Regions from separate parts of the Homo sapiens genome. Here regions 1, 3, 4, 5, 6 and 7 are each linked to region 2. The links are contacts of gene promoters, found by promoter capture Hi-C in blood cells and fetal thymus (Javierre and others, 2016). All regions are on one chromosome and are shown on one strand. Each heading gives the region's core, a stretch centred on a gene start or on the middle of the fragment in contact. The rest is flanking DNA. Distances are from core to core; before and after follow the strand shown. Region 1 overlaps UBE2D3 (ubiquitin conjugating enzyme E2 D3). Region 2 holds the start of EIF4E (eukaryotic translation initiation factor 4E). Region 3 overlaps CENPE (centromere protein E). Region 4 has its middle 2.7 kb from the start of CISD2. Region 5 overlaps PDLIM5 (PDZ and LIM domain 5). Region 6 overlaps CENPE (centromere protein E). Region 7 holds the start of SMARCAD1 (SNF2 related chromatin remodeling ATPase with DExD box 1).

Region 1 (2,753 bases), core at 171-2,670, 3.9 Mb before region 2:
TGAAAGTAGAAGTGGATTTAATTCTTTTGGGGTAGTCTCTTCAAGCACTGAAAACTAACATGTGCCAGTTAACTGCTTAGGATGTCTTAGAGTGAACAAAATATATTTATTGTCCCCAACTAGTATATAGGCTGGGTAAACTGTCTTGCATGTGTTTCATATATGGTCCTCAAAGCTTGTTGATAGCCAGCTCACTTTCTGTGTAGGATAGTTGTGACTGAAGGATGCTGATAATAATAGGACCTCAGTATTTGTTTAATTTGAAAAAGGATGCATTACTGACACTGCATACTTTTCTTTCATCATGCTCATCTGCAGTGTTGATTCTAGTTTTTGTTATTTATACAAATAAAAAGTTGAATGCTCCATCACTGGGATGAACTACTGTGTCACTAGATTGCTCTGTCAAACTTTGCCCCTGAGTTTAGGTGACCCTTTTTATCCAAGACAGGCAATCTTTGAGGATTCTCCACAGCATGTTGCTATAATCTATCTATTAAAAAAGAAACTAGGTTCGTAACACTGAGATAAAAAAATGTTTCAGATTAAAATCTCAAACCTAGGTTGGTTTTTGCATTCTTTTTTTAAATAGCAGTTTTCTTGTATCTGTTAGCGTATAGAAGAGCTTACTGAATATTATATATTGTTGGGTGTGACATGAATTACATTTATATTCCAGAACATTTGGAGTTTTTAAAAAAATTTTGTGGGTACATAGTTGGTGTATATATTTATGGGTTGCATGAAATATTTTGATACAGGTATGCAATGCATAATCACATCAGGGTAAATGGGGTATATACCTCGAGCATTTATCCTTTGTGTTACAATCCAGTTATACTTGTTTACTTATTTTTAAATGTCAGATTGTTTAGAATTTAAAAAAAAAAATACAGCTGCATGGGGGTCTTAGACTTACTAAATCATTTTCCCTGGAAACACATAATTTTGAAAATTTTCTAGGTGATTCTGAAGCTCCTCTCTGATTAAGAACCACAGATACAAGGGAGTAAAGGTCCTAATCTGCATTAGACGTAGTATTCTAGTCCCAGGGAATAAATGAGGAAGATGGTCCTTATCTATGGTAATCTCTGCGTTCAGTGGTGAAAATAAGCATGTAAACACATGAATAGTTGTTTGTCACTTTGTAATTTACCTTTCAAGAATATTAGATCTAGTAGGGGAGGTATTTAAAATAAATTTTCTATACTGTATTTTTTGTACTAGTATTATTACAATGTGATTTGTCTTTTATTATAATGACTTAATTCCCCTTGCCAAAACCAGTATTTTGAAATTAATGAAATAAAACTCTCCATTCTTGGAAATGTTGTGGTCTTGAGCTTGCTACCATAGCAGTGTTATTTCATAATTAAAAATGAATGCATTCACCAAATATCTTACTGCCCAGTTTCTCTTATTAGATAAGATTTATTCAGAATTGTATCCTCAACCTTGTTATGTAGGGAAGGGAAAAGTTTAGGGAAGTATTTTTATACTTTGTTGAAACATCTGATTTTTATCTCCTAATGATACTTTCAACATAATCTATTGTAAAAGAGACCTTCAACTTTTCATAGCTGAATTTGTCGTATTTAAATGTTTGTCAATTGTGAATCATGATTTCTTGTACCTTTTTCAGTATGAAATACTTACATTAATCCTAACCTTGCTGTAATTTCATGGCTAATGTGTAATTGAATGTTTTCTACTACTGGGCAGCTGTTTGGCTGTTAATCTTTGTTTTTTTTGTTTGTTTGTTTGTTTTGTTTGTTTTAATGTCCATAAAACACCCTTCTTGCTTTCATGGAGCAGAGCTTCAAATCTAAATTTGGGTTTCTTTGCCCATTTTTAAATAATGCTTACAAAAGAATGGCTTTGAATAATGTTAAGTGACTTTACCTTCAGTGGTGATCGAAAGAAAATTAGTAATATTCAATCCATTCTTAGTACCTTGTGTAATGAACACGCATGCTTGTTTCACCTATAATTACGACTAAACAGGAAGTTAATACCTTGTCAGTGATGCAGTGAGATACTGTGCAGTGCCTACTGTTAAACCTTAAGATAAAAAAGGATTTCTCAGAAGAAATTTCAAATTAAAATGTGTTTTAAAGGGACTATTTGGAGTTTTGTGAAATTGTTCATATCTTTTTGCCAAGCATCCTTCTCTTGAAATAACCATGTTTCTGAAGTTTGTTGTTCCCTGCCTTGATATTCGCATCTACATATTTTATACAGACATTTCATAACATTAAAGTTAATAAAACTTTATAGTAAACCAGATCTTTATATGAACAGTTACAGTAGTTACTGTCTGCCTGATGGACAGCTAATTGCACTGCACTTCGACCTCTATTGTTGGTTCGCACCTTTGTATTTTTCTAGGTTGGTTGTAAAGTCTTCTTGAGGATGATTCTTAAAATTTCTTAAGGCACTTACTCCCTTTGTTTCCCACCTCATTTTATCATCTCTTCCAGTCCCCAAAGCAGTGTTTTGTGTTGCTCAGTATAGGTTTTTGAGGCAAGGGCTGTTTTTATAATGCTGATTCACAGTCATACAAATCTTGTCTTTTGAGTCATGTAAATCTTGTCTTTAGTTCTGAAAGAAATAGACTCTCAAATAGAATACAAGAAATTAACCTTTAGTAATGGCATAAGCTTTTAGTTTTCCGGAAAGTGCTGAGAGGAAATGTATCTATACTACTGCGTTCTGTCCTCTGTATGACCTTTGTGTGATGACGTGCAAAATAG
Region 2 (2,700 bases), core at 199-2,698:
GGGAAATAGTAATGAGACAGTGTCTTCTTCATTAGAACCTTAGGAGTCTACTAGATTTCTTCATCTCTATTTGTTGTTATTAGTAGCCAAACTGTGCAAAAAACACGGTCTTGAGAAATGACAGCACAGTATCTTAGAGGGAAAGGAAATGTAGGATGCCAGTGTGGGGACAAATTTCTGATTGCCAGTGATTGTTGTGAGCATAACAATAATTTCATGAACATTAAAGCCTCTATTGAGGGCAGCTGCAGTTGTAAAGGAAAAAAAATGGTCCTGAACATTTAAAACTACACTGGTGTACATCATAATCAAACAAAGTAAACAGAAAAAAATTTAAACTTTGCTAAAAAAAAAAAGCAGAAGCACTTGATCTTTAGGAAGGCACGCAGTTGCTTATTATGAATCATTTCTAGAGTCCGATGCATTTTCAAAGCCGGTTACAGTCATTACGAAGCACACCCTTGTGAGGTAAGTGTATCATCACCTTTGGTTCATAAATAAAAAAGCTGAGACGCCGAGCGATTAAGTCACTCGCCTAAGGAGAATGAGTCAACGTCAAGAGTCATAGTTGACCCGGCCTAAAGACTCCAGACCATCAGTCCAGGGCTTAGTCAGCGGGGCCCGGAGTGGCTTCCCTGGCTGGCATCTGGACTTAGGCTATTTCCGTGCACGTAAAAGCGGAATATTGGAACGGTTGCACAGAACTTCCAAATAATTTTTACCGCCACGCAAGATTTAGCCCTGAGGTCTTAATCTCAGGATTTGGGACAGTAAAAGCTGTCGTCCCTCCCCCTCGTCCAGCCGGTGGCAAGCGGGTACTGCGGGCGGTTCCGTCCGTCCCCTTTCGCAGAAATGGCAACGAATGACCACCAGCATTAGCTGAGCCAGGGGACGTGGGAGGGTTGATTGCCTAAACGACTCTGCATCGCCGCCTCTTTTTGAAACTAAGAGAAAATGGTGGGAGATCAAAAGAAAACTAAATAAACACACAGGCAACTTGTCCTGGGACCTCAACTAAGCAAATGAAGCCTTATTGTGTGTGCTGAGCCTGCAGTTCCCAACCTTCCGGGGAAGATGGGAGGACAGGGCGACAAAGGGCACAGTAGGCTTGCCTGGCAGTAAGTGTGACCGCAGCTATCCAGGCGGAAGAGCAGAGGACTGAAACCACCCTCCAGCAAGCGAGTGTCCGCCGCGTTGAGAACCGCGCACCCTACCCATCGGCCACGTGACCAGTCCTTTTTAAAAAAAATTTCTTTACCTTAAAAAAAAAAAAAAAAAAAAGGTGGGGGAGAGACTCCACTTCCCAGAAGCCTCTCGTTACTCACGCAGCCGCAGTCTTGCGCAGGTGCCGCCAGGGCCAAACGGACATATCCGTCACGTGGCCAGAAGCTGGCCAATCCGGTTTGAATCTCATTTTTTTCCTCTTACCCCCCCTTCTGGAGCGGTTGTGCGATCAGATCGATCTAAGATGGCGACTGTCGAACCGGTGAGTATTGCCTTTGGCCCCCACCCCCACGGGTCCCCGCGCTCCGTCTTCCTTCTGACTGGGGGACTCCGCGGGACGGCGTTCCCGGCGCGCACTGTACCCCTTGCCGCCCCTTCCCCTTCATGTTGGACCTGACCTCCCGCGGACAAGTGGGGACGTCCCGGAGGATGGCCGAGGCGGCGTGTAGCGCACACTTTCTGGTGGGGGCCCGAGAACTGGGGGAGCGGTGTGGGGGAGGGGCGGCGTGGCGCCTCCTGCGGAACCGCGAGGTGTCTACAGGGTGGAGGGTAGCTGGGGTTCTGGGCTGGGTATGCGAGGATGGTGTCTTCATGATAGGAAGGCGCAGGGCCGGCTCCCAGCGAGTACTGGGATCCGCAGGCAGGGTGGGCGGCGAGCCGGCCTGGAGTGAGATGGAGGAGGGAGCCCTGGAGCAGCCTTTCCCTCCCTGCAGAACCCCAGCTCCGGGGCTCGGGTGCGGGGCGCGCGCACGTCTTCCTTAGACCGGTGGACTGGGGAGCTGGTGGGCGAGTGTTGCCGGAGGGTGGGTTAGGCGGGAGTGGTGCCGCGGCACGCGCGGAGGAGCTTCGACCTCGCTTAGGGGAGTTGAGAGGGGCGAGCGTCTGTTAATCCAGCGCGCCGGAGAGTTGCCGGTGTTTGCGCCAGGGGAAGCGAGAAAGGTCTGGGGTGGGAAGGAACACTCGTGTGTCACGGTGAAGCTCTCCAAGTAGAATGAGGGATGGTGGTGGTGAGAAGGGGTATCACATTGTCCTCGCCCCTCCATGCTTGGGACTGGGCTGTCATGGAGGAGGGAAGGGGGAGGAGCGAGGCCTACAGATCGCTGTAGCCGGTCGGCTTGCCGGCCGGACCTGCTGCATTTCACACGCGCCCGTCTTCCATTCATTCATCCTTTCCGCGTAGTGCGCACGCCTCAGAGAATGCGAATGGGTCTCAATCCCTCTGTTCTTCCGAGTCTTTATCTCCTGGAAGATTTCTGAGACGCAGTTTATTGGAAATAGAAACTTTTAAATTTACTTTTCCATTTGACTTTTTTTTTCTCTTTATCTATGCTACAGACTTTCATTTCAATTTAGGCACCATTTTAAACTTAACTGAAGCAAGCTGGTCCCAGGGTAGGTTTGTAGTTAATCTTTAAGCAGAGGGTATATTTTTCATAATTTGGGTTTGCCAGGACTGGCTCACTGAAACTTCTGGGC
Region 3 (2,700 bases), core at 185-2,684, 4.2 Mb before region 2:
AATAAAGTTATTGAAAGAAATGTAAAGTTATCTACATGACTTAGCATATTCCAAAGCATAATACATACATTAATATAAAACATCATTTTATTAACAAAATTGTAAATGTTTTTAATACCTTACACATTCAATAAATGTTTAGTAGTTCTGAATCACCGCTCTTCTATATAATGTTAATGGTTTCTTGGTGAGGTAGTCTCTCTTGTTGACTCAGTATTTTGCTATGAAAATATACACAAGTTTTCTGGATCTGGATTTAAATTCTTAAAGGATAGCAGAGGCTATGTCCTCTTAACTTTCCAGTTCTAATATTCCTTTTACTGTAATAACCACAGAAGTTCTTTCTCACATTTCTGGTAACCTACCTATCCCAATCCCTATACAAACTCTCTAAATTGGTTGGTTTATTATAGACTTTGTTTTTCATTGCCCCTCACTCCCAGCCTGGAGGAACCTATAGATCATTTATTCTACCTCTTCATTGTAGACATAAGGAAACAGTACCAGAGTTTTTATCAAAGTAAAGTTTTCTAAACCTGGAGTCCCCACAGATAGATAAAGCATATATGGATGGACTTCTTGTAATCTGTAAAATTTTTGAAATTTTTTATGAACTTTTTTGTGTGGATTTATTTGGGGGGAGGGGATACTGGGGTTTATACTTTGTTTTATCATATTCTTAGAGGGGCCCGTGATCCTGTAAAAATCTAAGAACTATGGTTTTAGAGGATATTTGATATTACTTTTATACCATATGACTTTGAAAAACCACTTAAAACAAGTTGCATTAGGTTATAGAACAGAGGTAAAGTGATTTCAAGTCATTCTCGGCTCTTTGGTAAGATTCATTCAAAGGGAGAGATTATTGATTGCATCATATCTAGTATTTCAAAGTCTGTGGATTGGATATTTCTCCGTATCTTAACATACCACCAAAGGAATTAACAAAGACTAAGGGGAAACTATCCCTTCCTAAAATCTTTTCCCCCAGACCTGTACCTTGAGAGTCTGTCTTCTGCTTTCCACCCTTATCCAAACAAAACACTAACATGCCTGCAGGTTTGATTCTTTATGTCTGCTTCTCCACTGAACAAAAGTAACCCAAAGTAGTGGTTGTTTACCTGATTGATAAAACTACATTAAAGCCATTAAAAATCTAGTTGTCAGGTAGCCAGCCTAGTAGAATATTGCTTAACTTTTGAATTTGGGTGTCCATTTTATTCCTCAAATTTGGGAAGTTTGTGGCCATTATTTCTTCAAATAAGCTCTGTCCCTTTTGCTGCCACCATTATCCCACACCCTTAATATCCCCACACATTTTTCTCAGATTTCTGCTTATATAAGTTAGAAAACTCAAGTGGTTCTTTTGATTGTGATGCAGCTCCTCATGGGCCACACTTTGTACCTCACATTAGGGATCTGCTGGGACTTGAGTCTAGTTATAGGTCTAGGAGCATAGAGGGGTGGTGGGGGTAGGTCCTGAGGAGAATCAGCATTGTCTTGCTTGGCAGCTGCCTCAGGGGAGGCCATTATTATTTCCTCAGGCAATGCAGGGTTAACCCTTCAGACAAAGGTGGAAAGGCCATTACCAACCCCAATGAGGTTGGAGAGGCCACTACAGCTGGTAAAAAAAAAAACTCATCAGAATGTAGGAACTGGCCAGGCATGGTGGCTCACACCTGTAATCCCAGCACTTTGGGAGGCTGAGGTGTGGGACTCTTGAGCCTAGCAGTTCGTGACCAGCCTGGGCAACATAGTGAAACCCCGTCTCTACAAAAAATACAAAAATTAGCCTGGCATGGTGGCTTATGGCCATAGTCTCAGCTACTCGGGGGTGCTGAGGTGGGAGGATCACTTGAGCCCTGGAAGTCAACGTTGTAGTGAGCCGAGATCATGCCATTGCACTCCAACCTGGCCAACAGGGTGAAACTGAAAAAAAAAAAAAAAAAAAAAAACTCAATGTTCCTGGCTTCAGGGTCTTCCCACACGTCCCCATCCCAACTTATAGAATCTCACTCTCCCAGTCACTGTGGCTTATTTTACCAGTAGACACACTGAGGCCTTTTGTAATTGCACCAATCAAATGATGAAGACTGGTGTTTGATTTTCAGCAATTTTAGCCTCATGTCTACAGGAGAGAAGATCCTCTTTCAGGGCACGCCTATAAGCTCTTAGGTTACTTATGTGGAGCTTGAGCCATGAATTTGAATCCCTGAAGTCATCCTTTTTTTTTTTAAATAATTTTGCCCAACAATATTAGAAGCAACCAACCAACATTGGTATATTTCTTAGTTTTCCATAAATATTTGAAAGTATTATAGGGCCGGGCACAGTGGCTCACACCTGTAATCCCAGCACTTAGGGAGGCTGAGGCAGGCGGATCACAAGGTCAAGAGTTTGAGACCAGCGTGGCCAACATGGTGAAACCCCGTCTCTACTAGAATACAAAAATTAGCCAGGCATGGTGGTGTGTGCCTGTAATCCCAGCTATTCGAGAGGCTGAGGCAGAAGAATCGCTTGAACCCAGGAGGCAGAGGTTGCAGTGAGCCGAGATCATGCCACTGCACTCCAGCCTGGGCGACAGAGCAAGACTCTGTCTCGGAAAAAAAAAAAAAAGTATTATATATAGAGTCACTTAAGTTCCTCACCTCTAAGAAGTGGTTGATTAGGAGTATCCAATGCAGACATTTTGCATACCTC
Region 4 (2,700 bases), core at 107-2,606, 3.9 Mb before region 2:
ATTTTAAAAATTTTTGTGTGTATGTAGATGGAGTCCCATTATATCGCCCAGGCTGGATAGTTGTTTTTATTAATATCTCTAAAAGATTTGAAGGGTAAGAGGAGAAAATTTCACTCCCTTGAAATAACTTTCTTGCTATGACTTTGTTTCATATTTTGGCTGAAGTCAAAATGTCCGAAGTTGTGCACTTGCTGATTGGATAATGTGTGTGATATCTTAATAATATGCCTCATTATTTACAGTTCTACACTTAACAACATATAATAACGAACTGCTAATGGTCCAGTATTTCATTGTGTATGACAGTGTAACAGCCAGTTATAATAAATACTTTCCATTTTTCCCCTTGGTATTTTTATTTTACAGTGAGAAAAGGAAGGAATTTTTTAAAGCAATCTTTCATTCTCTGGACTGTATAAATTTAGTGTTTGTGATTGTCCTTCACTAAAAAAGAATATCAGTAATAGAGTTGACCAAAATCTAGATTAAATAATTTTCTATCATTATAATTGTTCAAAATTGTTAAAGTAAAACTTACAATGGAAATTCTACAAACACGTTTAGATACAGGTTCATGTTTTTGAGCTAGGGCAGTATAGAAGATGGTGTATACAAAGTGATGTTTAAAAGGTTGATGGGATTTCCTTTAGAGAGAGTTTGGAGGTAAACCCTGGAGCTTTTTTATCCTGAAGATGATGGAACTTGAATATCCTTGTCCTCTGGACTATTCTGTTAACTGTTATCTTTAATCTCTGTGGATCTAATGTAGAAGCACCCTTGGGTACAACTAGATACCCTAGTTGAGGTAGGGGTAGGTTGGAAGTGGGGTACATTAGGAAAAGAAAATCTGGAAAAGGCCATTACCTATTCGTTTCTTCTCTTAGAGGATCTGTCATCTTGACAAGGGCAAGACGTGCTGTGTTGAGTTTAATTTTTCCCCTTGGTATTTTAAAGTGAGAAAAGGAAAGAATTTTTTTAAAGCAACTTTACATTCTCTGGACTGTATAAATTTAATGTTTGTGATTGTTGTGCATTAAGAATAAGACCTCCAAGCAGTTTTTCTTTAAAGAATTAAAAAATACATACCTCAATTTAAAGATATAGTAAAATGCTCAAATGCCAAATGTACAGTTCCAGGTAACCACCACCCACATCAATATACAGAATGTTCAATAGAGGCGTTTTTAAAAAGCGACCCTTCCAACCACATCCACCACCATTACTACTATTCTGTATTGCTGTGCATGTTTTTGACCCTCACATATAAGTAATTTTACAGTATGTAATTTTTTATGGTTGGCTTACTTCCTCTTAGCAGTTTATGTGAATAGCTGGTTTGCTATTTTCAAGTAGAAAAAATGTAGTGAATGCAAGTCTATATGGATAAAACTTTTTTGGGAGGCCTTGAAATTCAGAGAAAAGGTGTGGATCATATATTAGGTATTCTGATGCATTACATGAGCTATGCGAATGTGTAATAGGAGATAATTCCTAACTCCACCAATTTAAAAATCCTTATTATCCACTTAAAAGGAATATTTTCTTAAATTCCCTTTACTTAAAATTTAAATCCTGTTTTCATTTATATTTGTATTTCATTTCCACAACCCTGCCTTCTTGGCTGCACATGAAACATGGTCTAAAGATAATATTGCTCTAAATAGATGTAATAGGCTTATCTGACCACCTTATGCGATAGTGTTTTTAGACTCCATCTTTAAAAGACATAAAGAAACTGTGGTCAGAAAACTCAAGATAAATATGTAAATACAGTTAAAGGAGTCATTATTTACTTTCAAGCACTTGAGCTTGGATCACTCATCTTCTGCCTGTCCTAGCTAGGCCCAAGACTTTTATTTCTTTCATGTTTTTTTCCCATTAGGTCATCCAGTGCCCCAAATTCAAATATGATCGTTAAGATATAGCCCAAATCTCTATTTCCAGCCCAGATTTCTTTAGGCTAATCTTAATTCTAGGAGTCTAATTCCAAATGCCTACTAGTCTGCTCTTGACATCTTTGCCCACTGTGCTATTGGTTTGTTCATCAGTTTCACTGGTACATGTTTTCTGGAAAATATTACCTTGTTGGTTACATTGGTTGCTTATCTTTTCCTGTTGCTTATCTTCTCCTAGTGTATGTCTTTTTTTTTTTTTTTTTTGGTTGAGACAGAGTCTCTGTTGCCCAGGCTGGAGTGCAATGGCGCGATCTCAGCTCACTACAACCTCTGCCTCCCAGGTTCAAGTGATCCTCCTGCCTCAGCCTTCCATGTAGCTGGGACTACAGGCGCCCGCCACCACTCCCGGCTAATTTTTGTATTTTTAGTAGAGACGAGGTTTCACCATATTTGCCAGGCTGGTCTTGAACTCCTGACCTCATGATCCACCTGCCTCTGCCTCCCAAAGTGCTGGGATTACAGGCGTGAGCCACCGTGCCTGGCCGTGTATGTCTGTTTTTATACTGAAATTTGGTTTGGGTGTAGTCAAATTTATTCATCTTTTTCTTTACAATTTGTGTTCTGGGAGTCTTGTTTAAGAAATCTTTTTCTACCCCTAAATCACAAAGGTATTCACCTGTGTTTTTGCTAAAAGTTTTAAACTTATATTCTTCATATTAGGGCTTTACTCAACCCAGTACTTACTTTTTGTGCATGAGAAAGGGATCTACTCTCATTTGTTATTATTTTACATACAGACAACTAT
Region 5 (2,700 bases), core at 187-2,686, 4.5 Mb after region 2:
GAAAACATATCCTTAAAATATATACACAGAATACATTCAAACTAAATCCATAATGAGGTAAAAAGCCAAATCTCAATTATTCATAGGCTATCTAGTTGGAGCTCCAAGCCCTTCATTTCCTCTTCAAGGGTAAGTAGCTTTTGGCCATCTTACTGTTGGCTATCACCTCCACCAGAAAGTGAGCTGAGGAAATAATTCCGAAACAATCATTTTATTCAATTTTGATCAACAGTTTTTAACAAACAGCTTTTGGAACTGAAAGAGATTATTAAAATCCCATAGCACAACCTTTGAAAATTATATATGAAAGAACGAAGATTCAGAGAATTCCCCAAATTAGGGACAGTTCAAAAATGTACAGTCTGTTCCTAGTTAAATGCTTTTTCCATTTTATTATTGATAACATGGGGGAAAACGAAAAGAAGTTAAATTGAAGTCAGTTATCCTTGCTAAATCTACTCCCCTCATCCTTTATTATAGATAATCAAATTTGCCAAGATCAAATCCCAGGAGCAATGATAATAAGTAGAGTACAGGTCAACAGAGAATTAAACAACTCAGCCCGAGGACTAAGCACTGAATGAACATCTATAATAAAATTTGTAAAGTTTACTTACACTAGAGATTGTCAGAGGCATGTTGAAATCCTTACCGCCCTGCAGCCGGAAACCCCAAGGAGCTGGGCCAACCAGTGACACACTGTAGTTGCTCATGGTTCTAATGGCTCAAAGTCCAATGACAGAAAATGAAATATGCTGTGAAAGAAAATCAGATGATTAGCAAAAATGTTTACTTGAAACCCTAGAACATAAATTATGTTTAGTATTTTGTTTGAGGGGGGTGAGAGGATATAGAAGATAAGTCTTAATTAAGTTCTTCATTAATTTCAGTTTAAGAAAAGCAATCTGTGAGCTAATATAAATTTTCTACACTCATGGCAATTTCCATGGTCTAAAAATTCCATATCAGAATACATTTCTAGACACTTAGTATGTTTCACAACTTGCTTCAATCCAATTTTGTGGCTTCTTGCATGCAAAGTTTAACTCAAAGTACTTTACAATACTTCACTAATGTAGCAAGATTTTATTTCAGGTTGAATTCAGAATAATTTTCTCCTTCCCTCCACTTCATGTATTCTTTTGTCTGCAATTGACAAGAGTCTTTCAACTGCACTTACTTAAATTCTAAGTTACTCTAACATGTGAAAGAGACTGCAAATCAGTAGGCTCCCATTCATGCTTTCCAAATACTAAATTCTTTACAATGAGAAGCTGTTTTTCAATGCACAAAACTATTCTCTCCAATCATGAACTACAACTTGTATTTCCTCCTATGGGGACATGGTATTTTCCACACTTAAAGTGATATCTACTTTTCCTTCAGATAGTCAACGATAGGCAATACTCTAGTACAGTGATGTTAGTCACAACCTGCTTTTTGTTTTATACACACACCTCACCAGGCAGAGAGTAAGCATTTGCCACTCAGTGAATAAGATTATGACTAAATACAGCAAAAGTGCTGGGTTAATGCATTCAAATGGAATTGGCAGTTTAGAAAAGAACCAGTGCTTCGGTGCTTTCTTTTGTCTGTTCTGCTGTTAAGTGTGCGTGTGATGACTCTCCTAGTAGTACTTTCATATAATTTTTAAAAAGCAAAAAAAAAAAAAAAAACTTCGAGTTTCCTATTGGTTGTTATAACGGCAGGAGACAGAGGAATGAAGTTTTCTTTTGTTTTAATGGAATACTAAGAAACAATAATTCTCTCTCTTTAAAAAATATTAAAAACATAACAGATATGTAATTTTATATTAAAAACATACTTCCTTGGAAAATGTAAGCTATTCAACCAAATCACCACCTAATATTACCTGTCTTAAAATATGTTTTAACCCATTCAAAATTTCTAGCCCATCACCCCAAATTCATAGTTGCAGATATAGATATTTGAGCCATAGGTATATTTAAAGCAAACATTCCTTCTTCTCATAAAGGGAAAATGGGGCAAAACATTCAAATAAGCCTGGTTTTTAAAGAAAAATTATATCAGGGAAAATAAAAATTACAGAAAATTGTATCAGAAACCGAAACAGCTTTTCTACTGGCGTGGTAGTATACTGAACTACAAGGCAATAACACATTACTTCAGTAATGAAGTAATAGGCACAGAGCACTAAAAAAGATCCAAAGGCCAAGCCGGAAGTCAAACTGTATATATAGGTGAAAAACTACTAGTGGGAAGCTAATAACGAGCCACACATAATTCAATTGCTTTCCCGCTATAAAAGGAGGAGATTTTCAGAAAACTAATAGAAGGACTGTCCTGATATTGACACGATACAAATCAGAATCGTGTAAAGCCAACTGATATTTCACAGGCAGCCTGCCCTCCTTTATTAATCTTTAACTTGTGTCTGGGGAATAATATGAAAGTTGGGCTCAACTTCCTCTGGCCCCATTCTTCCCTACAAGAAAATGTATTTCATTTAGATTATCAACCCATGTACTTGCAACTTCCCTTTACTTGGGGATTCCCTTCCTAACTTCTCTCATTTGTTATTAAAATTCCTAGCACTGGCAAGGTCACAGCCACACTACAAAACCAGTGTCATTTCATTTCTAGTCACTGTCCGTTCATTTCTAGATGCTTCTTCTGCTAGCTTCATTTGGAATTCATCTGCCTTAAAACAGTCTCTGC
Region 6 (2,700 bases), core at 81-2,580, 4.3 Mb before region 2:
TGGTGTTTTTATATAATTTTTTTTCTTCTAGTTTCCTGATAGGGAATTTCTCTTACGTGTATCTTACATGGAAATATACAATGAAACCATTACAGATTTACTCTGTGGCACTCAAAAAATGAAACCTTTAATTATTCGAGAAGATGTCAATGTGAGTAGCAGACTTAAGGGAGCTTTAAAATTGACTGACTTATTGAGATTATTGTTCTTGAATGTTTACCTTTAATTTCTATAGTTTTTAAAGTGTCTCCTATTTCTATAGTATGTGAGGGTTTTTTTGAAGTATTTATATTCATCTTTTAAACAATATGAATAGTTTTAAAATACTGACAGCTCTAATATTTTGGTTTAAGTGTAAAAATAGCAAGTTGGAAGTATCAGGTTAGAATTTGTTGTGCTTTGGTATGTGAAATAAATTGTGGGTATTCATAGAATTATTTGTTACATTCCTACAGAATTATGGTTCCATTTGCCACTTTTAACTTTCACAAATGAATTCTATAATAGTTTGCACCTTCTTTTGAAAAGCAAACTTGTGACTTCTATTTCTCTAATCTTTCCATAATTAAACTTGTTTCAGAGGAATGTGTATGTTGCTGATCTCACAGAAGAAGTTGTATATACATCAGAAATGGCTTTGAAATGGATTACAAAGGGAGAAAGTAAGACTTTATGCTGTATTTCTTTAGAACACTTGTAAAAACTATCTTTTCAATCAAGCACGTTTGGACCTCAAATCATACTTTTTTAAGTTAAAATAAAAATTATTGTGTTTCTATGGATTTTATTATATATGCAGCTGAAATATAACTCATTTTTACAGAGAGCAGGCATTATGGAGAAACAAAAATGAATCAAAGAAGCAGTCGTTCTCATACCATCTTTAGGATGGTAGGTAATTCTATCTATCTGTTAGATCTTTCCAAGTAAGAATGCACTAATTTTTCTACAGCTTGCCTTTTCTATCTAGATTTTGGAAAGCAGAGAGAAGGGTGAACCTTCTAATTGTGAAGGATCTGTTAAGGTATCCCATTTGGTGAGTATTAATGAACCATAATAATGTACTGTATGGGCCAAAACAAAATTTAATTTAGTTGCTGGATGTTTGGTTTAATAAGAACTGTTAACTAAACTAAATGTGGGAGGAAATCTACAAATTGTCTGCTTAGTCTTGTCAGTATCATCAAATTCCTAGCTAAAATGTCGTAGGAAAAATTCAGAGGATCTTTCTTCCTGTTATGTCATGGTTGCCATCTCCTAAAATTTAAATGTCAGGGCTATAGGGTTATAGGAATTGATGTTTTTTCTAACCACTAATGCAGTAGAATTTTTTTCTATACACATTTAACACTTTAGATCATCTTAGAATTTGAGGGTCTTTTTGTAAAATCTCAGCCAATGTAATTTAGACTTATGTGATCAACAAAAATCTAGGTTGGATGGTTAAAAAGTAATCACATTACTTTAGGTTTTACTTAAGTACAACAATAAAATATATTTTGTATTGTAAACGTAGTACTTTAGACTGTAAATCCATTGAGGAGTGATACTGCATTCATCCTGGTAGCCCCAACACATTATACCTATTTTATGTCTAATATAGATTTGCTGAATAAGCGAATATATGCATTATGCAAACATTCCTATATTCCACATTAGTAAACCTTCACTTCCTTCTTTCCACACTAAATTATTGCTGTTTCTTTCTTGCTCCTTTTCTATCTTTTACCATATTGCTTTATTCTGCATTTTTAGGGCCTAAATTCTTTAGCTTGATGTGGGATATGATTTAAGATTATTTGATTAGAAAACTTCAGGGAAAAAAGCAATCTATAATATGTTTATTCATTTTCAGATTTTATAAAATTAGATTATTAATTACTTAATATTCAATCCTAATTTCACCTTAGCTATTTTGCTATAAAATTGTATAACTTATTTTAGTAGACTTTAATCTTGTTTTAATTTAACAATAAAAAACCAAACCCTAACCTCTTTAGTTTTCTCATCCAAGACTGTGATATTTCATATAATTTTAACTTTTAATAATTTAGCTTTAATACTCTTGGCATATTCAGTGATCTACTTGATGATTTTCCTCATGTTACGTGATGCTCTGTCATTTGTGTTCCATCTGTTCCAACCCTCCAGCCTACCCACTTACTCTAAGAATCTTCTTGGAAAGAAGTCTCTAAAGAGTCATCTCTGTCTCTTTAGAGGTGGCTCTTTTCTGATTATCTCCTGGCCTTGGTGGGATGATAATATCCAGTTTCTCTTAGCTGTACTCCTCTGTTTTCTACCCTGGCTTCTTTTTCCCTACCCTCCTAAAAAAATAATTAAAAAAAAAAAAACTTGGAGGTATTCTGTGACGTTTCTTACTCAAGTTCTTGCTCTCAAATGTTCTGTCATCATTTCCATGTTGATGACTGCCAAATATTTTACCTATAGTCTCTGAATTCTAATTCATGTCTTCCTAAAGATGGTTATAATTGTGTCCCATCATTATCTCAAACTTTAATATGTCTAAAACGAAACTATTTTCTTCCTACCATAGTGAATATTCCTTATTTCCAGTAAAACCAGCATTATCCTAGCTGCCTAAGCTGGAAACCTAAGTCAATTTTGACTCATCTTTTTCTGCCTTTCTCTTTGTCCACTTGTCCCATTTCTTACTGATCCTACCTTTAAACATTTCCATGG
Region 7 (2,700 bases), core at 102-2,601, 4.7 Mb after region 2:
ATAGTTAACTGTTCAATGAACATAGATTCGAGTGGAAATCTTAATTTTTGGCTTATCCTCAAATACTTTTGTCTCTGACAATCTGCTGATGAGGTTAAAAATGTTCATTCACCATGAAGAATACCAATTACTCATTTGCATTCTGAGGACATCCAGGAAGTCAGGTGGATGCAAGAACTTGATGTGATCTGATCTTCCCTTGTGTACAGAGGTTGTCTTTAGGCACCTTGCTCAATGTCTAGCTCACAGTAGATGATCAATATTTTGAGGGAATACTGGAATGAATGAAAATGTCTGCCCAAATAGCCTCAAAGTTTATCATAGGACTGAATCACTGACATCGCTCTTCCAATAGCAACCGTTCTGACCTATGGATGCCCTAAATTCTAATTTCAACTTCCACCATGGGGCCATATTCGAAGAACTCATATAAAAGTGAGGCGACAATGGATGGATGCTCAGTTGAGGGTACATGGTGCTTATGGCAGTCCCAAAGCTGTATTTAAAAGGGCACACCGCAGGACAATGCATCAATATATATGACATCAAGAATAAAAATGAGAATCCCTTCTGCCTTTCATCTTTTAAAAACTGTCCTTGATGTTACATCAATTTTAACATTGTAACTCACCTGTTTTTTCAGTTATATCTGAATCAGGAGTGTTTGCCCTGCTAACTTCCCCTTCAGCATTCTCCTCTTCAGCACTAAGAGAAATTGGTGAAGAAGGGCCAGGCTGGGAAGGTTGAGGGGTTGCTTCGGGCGCTTCCTCAATCTTATTCCTTTTCTCAAAGCGAAAACGGTCCAGGTTGAAAAGATTCATATTGGTAGAAAGCACCACCTTGCAGGGATGGGGGCTTTAAATGAACTATCTGCAGGGGAAAAATAAAGAGAGGAAAAAAGGCCATGAAAACAATATACGATACAATGCCACAGCAGTTTATTCCCAAGGCAATAAAGGGCCCGCAAACATGCCAGTGGCTCAGGACTGTTATGGCTGCGCTTCATTGTTAGGCCGCAACAATTAGAAGGTGGACGGGGGTATCTTTTAAAATTTTCCATTGCTTTTCACTCCCCTTCGTCCGCCTCCCCCGCCCGCCCCTCCTTACTGAAACCACGAGCTGACCCTCATGCAACCTCCTCTTACCCAAGCACGCGCAGGCACGTTCCCCAGTATAACCCCCTAGCGGGCCTCGCGCCCGCCCACAAAGAGAAGCTCCCTGTGCTACCGTGCCCCCTGCCTCGAGAAAGGACCTGCCAGGGCCCGCGCCTCGACACTGCGGGGACACAAAGGGGCCAAAGAAGGGGAGCGGCGGAGGCCGTGCTGGCGGGCATCCGCCCGGAAGTTGACGCGGCGCGATCCCAGCTGAGAGGAAGCTGATAGGATTAAGAACACACAGGAAGGTTCAGAGGTGGAGTGCATGCTAAGGCATCTTTTTAACGTTCAATCGCTCGCTTGTTCTTTCTTCCCTCAGTACTTACGATCTTGTAGCCTCAGTGCTATGTAACAAAGGTTGAAAATAAAAAAAAAATTTCCTAGCGTGGGGCGACGGTAGCCGTGCCGGGACCTTCCAAAACACCACGGAGAAACCTTAAGAGCGCGTAATGATGACGCAACACGCAGCCTAGGCTTTTTCTTCCCAAACAACGCGCGAGCCGACAATGTCGAGGCGCGCGCTGTTGTCATGGTAATTCGTACCCGTCTCCGCCGGCTTGTAAGGGCCAGATTGTTCTGTACCTTTGTCCTGTTAAATTATCTAGAGAGTTATTAAATAGAACAATAGTAAATAGCATAATGACAAAAAATAACAATATATAATACAATTAGTATATATTGTATGTATTATAATCTGTAGTGTTTCACCTATAATATAATGTAGATAGCATAATAGTAATAATACTGTGCTAAGCTTTTTCAGTGTATAATCCCAATCCTTACAAGAAGCCTATGTTTACAAAGCAAAGAAACTGAGACCTGCAAATGTATAGGTAATTAGTGACGGATAAGAACCCCGGGATGCTGAGCTTCAAAGCATTTAAAGTAATTCCTCACTTTCGGCTTGATTGTTCTTAGAATGGAATTTGATTAATTAATTAATTTTTTAAAAATATTTTAATTTTTAATGTTTGCGGGTACATAGTAGGTGTACATATTTATAGGGTACATGAGATATTTTGATACAGGCATGCAATGTGTAATAATCATATCAGGGTAAGTGGGGTATCCATAACAAGCATTTATCCTTTGTGTTTCAAACAATCCAGTTATTTTAGTCATTTAAAAATGTACAATAAGCTGGGAGTGGTGGCTCACGCCTGTAATCCCAGCACTTTGGGGGGCTGAGGCAGGTGAATCACAAGGTCAGGAGTTTGAGACCAGCCTAGCCAACATGGTGAAACTCCGTCTCTGCTAAATATACAAAAAATTAGCCGGGCGTAGTGGCGGGCGCCTGTAATCTCAGCTAATCGGGAGGCTGAGGCAGGAGAATAGCTTGAACCTGGGATGCGGAGGTTGCAGTTAGCCGAGATCACTCCACTGCACTCCACCCTGGGCAACAAAGCAAGACTCTTGTCTCAAAAAAAAAAGTACAATAAATTGTTGTTGACTGTAGTCATGCTATTGTGCTATCAAATACTAGATCTTATTCATTCAAACTGTATTTTCGTACCCATTAACCATGCTCACCGACCACCGGGGTCCT

The links. Contacts are between HindIII fragments. The CHiCAGO score rates a contact against its expected background, and 5 or more counts as called.
Region 1: a contact is called between a fragment that was not itself captured here and the fragment with the promoter of EIF4E in region 2, in 1 of 17 cell types (neutrophils). The highest score is 8.9, in neutrophils.
Region 3: a fragment that was not itself captured here is called in contact with the fragment with the promoter of EIF4E in region 2 in 1 of 17 cell types (neutrophils); the score reaches 7.2 in neutrophils.
Region 4: a contact is called between a fragment that was not itself captured here and the fragment with the promoter of EIF4E in region 2, in 1 of 17 cell types (neutrophils). The highest score is 6.4, in neutrophils.
Region 5: a fragment that was not itself captured here is called in contact with the fragment with the promoter of EIF4E in region 2 in 2 of 17 cell types (naive CD8 T cells and M1 macrophages); the score reaches 5.5 in naive CD8 T cells.
Region 6: a fragment that was not itself captured here is called in contact with the fragment with the promoter of EIF4E in region 2 in 1 of 17 cell types (neutrophils); the score reaches 7.8 in neutrophils.
Region 7: a contact is called between the fragment with the promoter of SMARCAD1 here and the fragment with the promoter of EIF4E in region 2, in 9 of 17 cell types (total CD4 T cells, naive CD8 T cells, fetal thymus and 6 more). The highest score is 18.6, in total CD4 T cells.

What each region holds. Positions count from the first base shown.
Region 1 is chr4:102,819,746-102,822,498 of GRCh38, reverse strand. The region is part of intron 2 of UBE2D3 (ubiquitin conjugating enzyme E2 D3); the gene reads left to right. Among named protein-coding and RNA genes, the nearest start is that of UBE2D3, 6.4 kb to the left of the region's middle. The HindIII fragment of the contact is 2,485 bases long and covers 178-2,662 here.
Region 2 is chr4:98,927,881-98,930,580 of GRCh38, reverse strand. It overlaps EIF4E (eukaryotic translation initiation factor 4E), which reads left to right and starts at 1,448. Exons shown (of 7, transcript NM_001968.5): 1 at 1,448-1,486. The coding sequence starts at 1,469. RefSeq lists an enhancer at 1-1,054. The HindIII fragment of the contact is 5,241 bases long and covers 1-2,700 here.
Region 3 is chr4:103,103,263-103,105,962 of GRCh38, reverse strand. CENPE (centromere protein E) reads left to right here. Exons shown (of 49, transcript NM_001813.3): 49 at 1-152. Among named protein-coding and RNA genes, the nearest start is that of BDH2, 4.8 kb to the right of the region's middle. The HindIII fragment of the contact is 4,331 bases long and covers 1-2,700 here.
Region 4 is chr4:102,864,951-102,867,650 of GRCh38, reverse strand. It overlaps a transcript of UBE2D3 not described here. Among named protein-coding and RNA genes, the nearest start is that of CISD2, 2.7 kb to the left of the region's middle. The HindIII fragment of the contact is 3,078 bases long and covers 1-2,700 here.
Region 5 is chr4:94,453,302-94,456,001 of GRCh38, reverse strand. PDLIM5 (PDZ and LIM domain 5) reads right to left here. Exons shown (of 13, transcript NM_006457.5): 2 at 618-755. The coding sequence starts at 713. Among named protein-coding and RNA genes, the nearest start is that of PDLIM5, 2.7 kb to the right of the region's middle. The HindIII fragment of the contact is 2,948 bases long and covers 1-2,700 here.
Region 6 is chr4:103,192,565-103,195,264 of GRCh38, reverse strand. It overlaps CENPE (centromere protein E), which reads left to right. Exons shown (of 49, transcript NM_001813.3): 5 at 32-151; 6 at 581-662; 7 at 824-891; 8 at 971-1,036. Among named protein-coding and RNA genes, the nearest start is that of CENPE, 4.4 kb to the left of the region's middle. The HindIII fragment of the contact is 3,593 bases long and covers 1-2,700 here.
Region 7 is chr4:94,206,516-94,209,215 of GRCh38, reverse strand. It overlaps SMARCAD1 (SNF2 related chromatin remodeling ATPase with DExD box 1), which reads right to left and starts at 1,351. Exons shown (of 24, transcript NM_020159.5): 1 at 1,146-1,351; 2 at 632-870. The coding sequence starts at 821. SMARCAD1-DT (SMARCAD1 divergent transcript) reads left to right here and starts at 1,660. Exons shown (of 9, transcript NR_125922.1): 1 at 1,660-1,686. RefSeq lists enhancers at 771-1,274, 1,373-1,732. The HindIII fragment of the contact is 2,630 bases long and covers 1-1,910 here.